2 separate regions of the Homo sapiens genome follow, and region 1 is linked to region 2. The links are contacts of gene promoters, found by promoter capture Hi-C in human tissues and cell types (Jung and others, 2019). All regions are on one chromosome and are shown on one strand. The core of a region is centred on a gene start or on the middle of the fragment in contact, and the rest is flanking DNA. Distances in the headings are between cores, read along the strand shown. Region 1 overlaps EIF4EBP2 (eukaryotic translation initiation factor 4E binding protein 2). Region 2 holds the start of LRRC20 (leucine rich repeat containing 20).

The links. Contacts are between HindIII fragments. The study calls those that stand out against the background at their distance.
Region 1: a fragment that was not itself captured here is called in contact with the fragment with the promoter of LRRC20 in region 2 in 1 of the 25 tissues and cell types used here (mesendoderm cells).

Annotation. Positions count from the first base shown.
Region 1 is chr10:70,416,772-70,419,471 of GRCh38, forward strand. The region is part of intron 1 of EIF4EBP2 (eukaryotic translation initiation factor 4E binding protein 2); the gene reads left to right. Among named protein-coding and RNA genes, the nearest start is that of EIF4EBP2, 14 kb to the left of the region's middle. The HindIII fragment of the contact is 5,600 bases long and covers 1-2,700 here.
Region 2 is chr10:70,381,355-70,384,054 of GRCh38, forward strand. It overlaps LRRC20 (leucine rich repeat containing 20), which reads right to left and starts at 1,271. Exons shown (of 5, transcript NM_001278212.2): 1 at 1,195-1,271. RefSeq lists enhancers at 482-1,101, 946-1,145, 1,676-1,775 and a silencer at 1,176-1,545. The HindIII fragment of the contact is 15,501 bases long and covers 1-2,700 here.

The DNA.
Region 1 (2,700 bases), core at 47-2,546, 35 kb after region 2:
CTCCCACCTCAGCCTCCCCAGCAGCTGGGACTATAGGCATGCAACACCACGCCTGGCTAATTTTTGTATTTTTTTTTAAGAGACGGGATTTTGCCATGTTGCCCAGGCTGGTCTTGAACTTGTGAGGTCAAGTAATACACGTTGGCCTCCCAAAGTGCTGGGATTACAGGTGTGAGCCATGCCTGGCTAATTCCACTTTTTTAGTTTGGTATATACCCAAGAGAATGGAAATGTGTTCACATGAAAACTTGTACGTGAATGTTATTCATAATAGACAAAAAGTGGAAACAACCCATTTATCAGTTGATGGACTTGTTTTTATCGACTTACCAGTCCATCAACTGATAAATTGATAAGGTGCGATATATACATACAATGAAATATTTGGTAATGAAAAAGAAATGAGGTACTGATAAATGCTACAACATAAATGAACTTTGAAGACATTATGAAAGTGAAAGAAGCAGTCACAAAAGACTGTATTGTATGATTCCATTTATATGAAATGGCCAGAGTAGGTAAAACTATATAGAGACAGAAAGTAGATTAGTGGTTGCCTAGGGTCAGAGGGTGTGGGGAGATCAGGTGGCATCTAAGGGGTTGGGGGAGGTTATGGGGGTAATGAAAGGGTTCTAAAATTGATTATGGTGATGATTGTACAGTCCTGCGAATCAACTAAAACTATTGAATTATACACTGTAAGTGGATCAATTGTAAATGAATGCTATTTCAATAAACTTGTAAAATACCGTATCTTATCAGCTCTTTAAGGTCATAGAGGTTCTTCAGAGTTTCTCTTATACCTCACACATTTAGGCAGAATCTCCACTACCTATATCCTAGTTGGTTTAATTGCAATTCTTTAATGTATGCGTTGTTGCTGATACATAATTTAGAAAGCTTGCTTCTGTGCTGTGCTTTTTTCACCACCTCATCTCCACAATTTCCAAGCTTGATGTACTACAGAAGTAAGAATAATCTTGTTCCAGTTTGCAAGTTGACTCATCTGACAGTGAAACCTCACCCTTCTGAAATCTCATCATGAACAAAAGTGGGGTAACTCAAACAGATAGGCAAAGTCCATTGTTAAAGCTCCTTCCCTTTGTTCATTGGAAGGCCATCAGACCCCCTTTCAGCCTATTTGCCCTTATTTTACATAGCATGCTAATAAGCAAGTTGCTGATTTCCAAACCCACCAGACTAGAAACACCAAGTTAGAAAGGGTGTTAAGGGTGTGCTATACAGATTGAATTGTGTCTCCCCAAAATTCTTATGTTGAAACCTTAATTCCCAACATGATAGTATTAGGAGGTGGTGCCTTTGGGAGTTAATTAGGCTGAGTTGAGGTCATAAAGGTGGGACCCTCATGATGGGATTTGTGCCCTTATAAGATGGAACACCACAGAGTTGAGGCCCCCTTACCCCCATGTAAGGGACACAAAGAGAAGGCAGCTACCTACAAGCCAGGAAGAGAGCCCTCACCAGAAACCATCCATGCTGGCATCTTAGTGTTGGACTTCTAGCCTCCAGAACTATGAGACAATTTCTGTTGTTTAAGTTGTGCAGTCTGTGGTATTTTGTTATGGCAGCCTAAGCTGACTGAGTCATAGTAGTAGCCTGGAAAAAAGGTAGCTCTTAGTCTAAGGGGACAAGGGCACTGTGGGGGAGGGGTGCACCAGCACAACTTTGACCATCCGAACTCTGTATAGTGATGTTCAGCTGTACAGAGCACCAACTTGATAGGGCTTAGAGACTTCTTAGGTCACAACATAGTATAATAAACAATTTTCATAATACTGTGATTCATCAAGAGGGTTGAATCATTTTCTGTTGAAGGCCATAAAGGGATTTAAATCTGTATTAGAAGTATTTTCATTCAAGATAATTGAAATTGTTTACCCTTTGAAAGTTGAACTAAGTTTTGTGCTACCCAGAATGCCTCGTTCCTCATAATTTCTAGATGCCTTTTTGAGTGCTACTCTAGTTTTTGTTTTTCAAAGCAAAGAGGTTGAAGGTAAGTTTCTACTTTCCTTGTCCTAAAATTATATTTGATTTACATTTTGAGGCAGGATCTTGCTCTGTTGCCCAGGCTGGAGTGCAGTGGTGCAGTCATAGCTCACTGTAGCCTCGAACTCCTGGACTCAAGCTATTCTCCTGGCTCAACCCCCGAGTAGTAGGGACTTCAGACCAACAGCACCTCACTTGGCTCTTTTTAAAATAATTTTTTTAGAGACAGGGTCTCACTATGTGGCCCAGACTAGACTCAGACTCCTGGGCTCAAGCAGTCCTCCTGCCTTGGACTCCCAAACTGTTGGAATTACAGGCATGAGCCACCATGCCCAGGCTCTCTTGTCTTTTTGATAATAGCCATCCTAAGAGATGTGAAGTGATATCTCATTGTCGTTTTGATTTGCATTTCCTTGATGATTAGTGATGTCGAGCACCTTTTAATGTACCTGTTGACCATTTGTAAGCAGCACGTTTCCATAACTGTTTATCAGTTAAAGTGTACTCTTCAAAACTATTGTTTTTAAAACATTCAGGTAGCACTTAACTGGTAAGCAGATTGTTTTGTAGAATAGAGAGGGGCTGCCAGTTTCAGCTTTGACTATAGCTGTGAGAAGAATGTTAGTCTCAGTCCTTCTTTGGAAAGCCTTTAAAAGGGGCTGTTTATTTTTTCTCATACTTGTTTATTCTTTC
Region 2 (2,700 bases), core at 21-2,520:
TCCTGCTTTGGGGGAGCTGGCAATACAGCCCTCCTGTCCCTATAACCTGGTTTCACCTGGACTCAGGCTGGCTGGGGGAGGGGTGATTTTTGCTTAAACCCTGACCTGGCCCCCTGACTCCAGCCCTTACCATCAATAACTCTACCTTATCTGCAGTCCGGAGACCTCTGCAAAGGAGCCGCTGCGACAGCCCGTCCCCACCATCTGCTCCTATATTTAGTTACTGGTGTTGTCAGTTGGGAACGTTAGAGCCTGGCAGGGGCTCGGATGGGCAACCGGAGCCTCCGGAGCCATGTGTGCAAGCTGGCCCTACCGCTGGCTCCAGCCCGGGCTCTGGACCATGCCAAGCCGGGGAGCGGGTGGGGAGGTGAGGAGCGACCCAAATAGTCCCAAACCCCCCTTCAGATCAGAACGAAGTTGACCCACTTCCCCACCCCAGGGAAAGAAGCCCGCTGGGACGTGAGCGGGACCTGCTGGCGCCTTGTTTTTGTGGCATGGGGTTCGGGAAGCTCAGCGCGTGCTCCCTCGCTAACATCTAGGCATCCTCGGACTGAGCCTCCAGCACTACGCGCGGTAGCCAGGCAAGGGTCCCCCAGCCCCGCGTGCCAGGATCCGCCTCACCCCCGGTGCCTGCAGCCAATGGCACCTCGTCCGCTGGCCCGGCAGGCGGGGACTGGGAGAATAAAGCTGGCAGAGGGAAGAATGGTAGTGATCGCAGAGGCCCCGGGGCTCCCACGCTGCCCGGAGGCCGAGAGGCACGCTCTGGAGCAGGCGTCTGCAGCTCCCCAGAGCGGAAGCAAACCCCGAAAGTGTCGCTTCGGGGACGAAATGCACAGCAGCCTCTCCAAGCAAGGGCGCCTCCCGCGAGGAATGGAGGCCCGCCTGGGAGCGGTTCTCCGAGCTCCCTATTCCCTGGCACCTCTGCACCCACTCCCCTGAACCATCGGGGTCCAGGTGCAGTGAGCAAGCAAGAGCCCGCGCATGCCGAGCCCCTTGGCACCGCCAGAGCCTCCGCTGGTGCACCGCTGCTCTTTTCCACCGGGTGACCTGGGGGAGGGGAGGGGACGCTGCAAAAATCGGAACACTTCTCGCCCTCTCTCCCCCAGCCCCTGCAACGCTTGACCTCGGACTACATTTACTTTGCGGGGCAAGAAGCGTGTGGTCCCGCTCCGGGCCGCTTTTGGCTCCACTTACGGCGACAATGCCTCCTAGCGCCCTGCGCAGCGCAGTCACGCTCCCTCCGCCGCCGGCGGCGCCCCAGGCGAGTTCCGAGCCGGCGGGGCGGGGCGCGCGGGGCTGCGGGATCTGCGCGCGCGGCCACTCCGCCAATCCCGGCGCCAGGACCGGCGCCGCGGCGGGAGCAGGCTGGGCTCGGGATGCGCTCAGCCAATCAGTGGGGGAGCGGCGCGCGCGGGGGTGGCGCGCGGAAGGGCAGCCCGCGCGCTCCCGGCCGCAGGGAGTAACCGCTTTGTGTGCTGCTTCTAGAGGGAGAACGCCTGAGGGGGCGGAGATACAGAGTGGGACGCGCAGTACATCCCAGGATCTCTAGGACCGGGGCTCCAGATTGGGTTTTCTCGAGGGAATGGAGTTGAATTAGCCAGATCAGGGATACTTTGAAACACGTGAACATGGAGCATAGGGAAATTTTCCTATGATGACTTCGGGTGCCCATTGAGGTTTTTAGTATATGCAAGGCCCTGTGTCTCGGCCCTGCGTCTCCAATCCTAATGTTCTCATCTATAAAATATGACTTGAGGGCGGGGCGCGGCGACTCACGCCTGTAATCCCAGCACTTTGGGAGGCCGAGGTAGACGGATCACCTGAGGTCGGGAGTTCGAGACCAGCCTGGCCAACATGGCAAAACCCCCGTCTCTACTAAAAATACAAAAATTAGCCGGGCGTGGTGGCAGGCGCCTGTAGCCGCAGCTACTCGGGATGCTGAGGCAGGAGAATCGCTTGAACCCGGGAGGCGGAGGTTGCAGTGAGCCGAGATGGGCACTCCAACCTGAGTGGACAGAGTGAGACTCTGTCTCAAAGAAAAAAAAAAGAATATTTAATTCCGCCTCTAGGGGGTCTAGGCAGTCAAAGAACACACATTCCCTTGGGCCTCGATGGATGTTAAGGGTTACTTATGCCCTCTCCACCCCCAACAATATGTTAAAGTTCATCAGAATGTGATCTTATTTGGAAGTAGGGCCGTTGCAGATGTAATGAGTTAAGGTCATGCTGGAGTAGGGCGGGCCCCTAATCCACTGAGACTGGTGTCGTTGTAAGAGAAGAGACACAGAAGAGACGCACAGGGAGAACCACCTGTGGTGATGGCGGCAGGGATCAGCTGATGCATTTCCAAGGCCAGGAGTGCCAAGCACTGCCAGCAGGGACCAGAAGCTAGGAACGGGCAGGGAATAATTCCTCCTTCAGAGCCTCCAAAAAGGAACTAACCCTCCAGACACCTTGATTTTGGACTTAATAGCTTCCAGAGCTGTAAGTGAATAAATTTCTGTTGCCACCCAGTTTATGTCCATTTGTTATAGCAGCCCTAGGAAAAAACTACAATAGGTTAGTAGGAATAAAGAGAAGAGGATGATAAATATCTCCAAAGTAAGTCTTTTGAAACTGATTGCTTAGTATATGCAAAGCCTTGTGTCTTGGGGTATACTGACATGAATCAGACACAGACCCTGCCCTCAAGGGGTTACC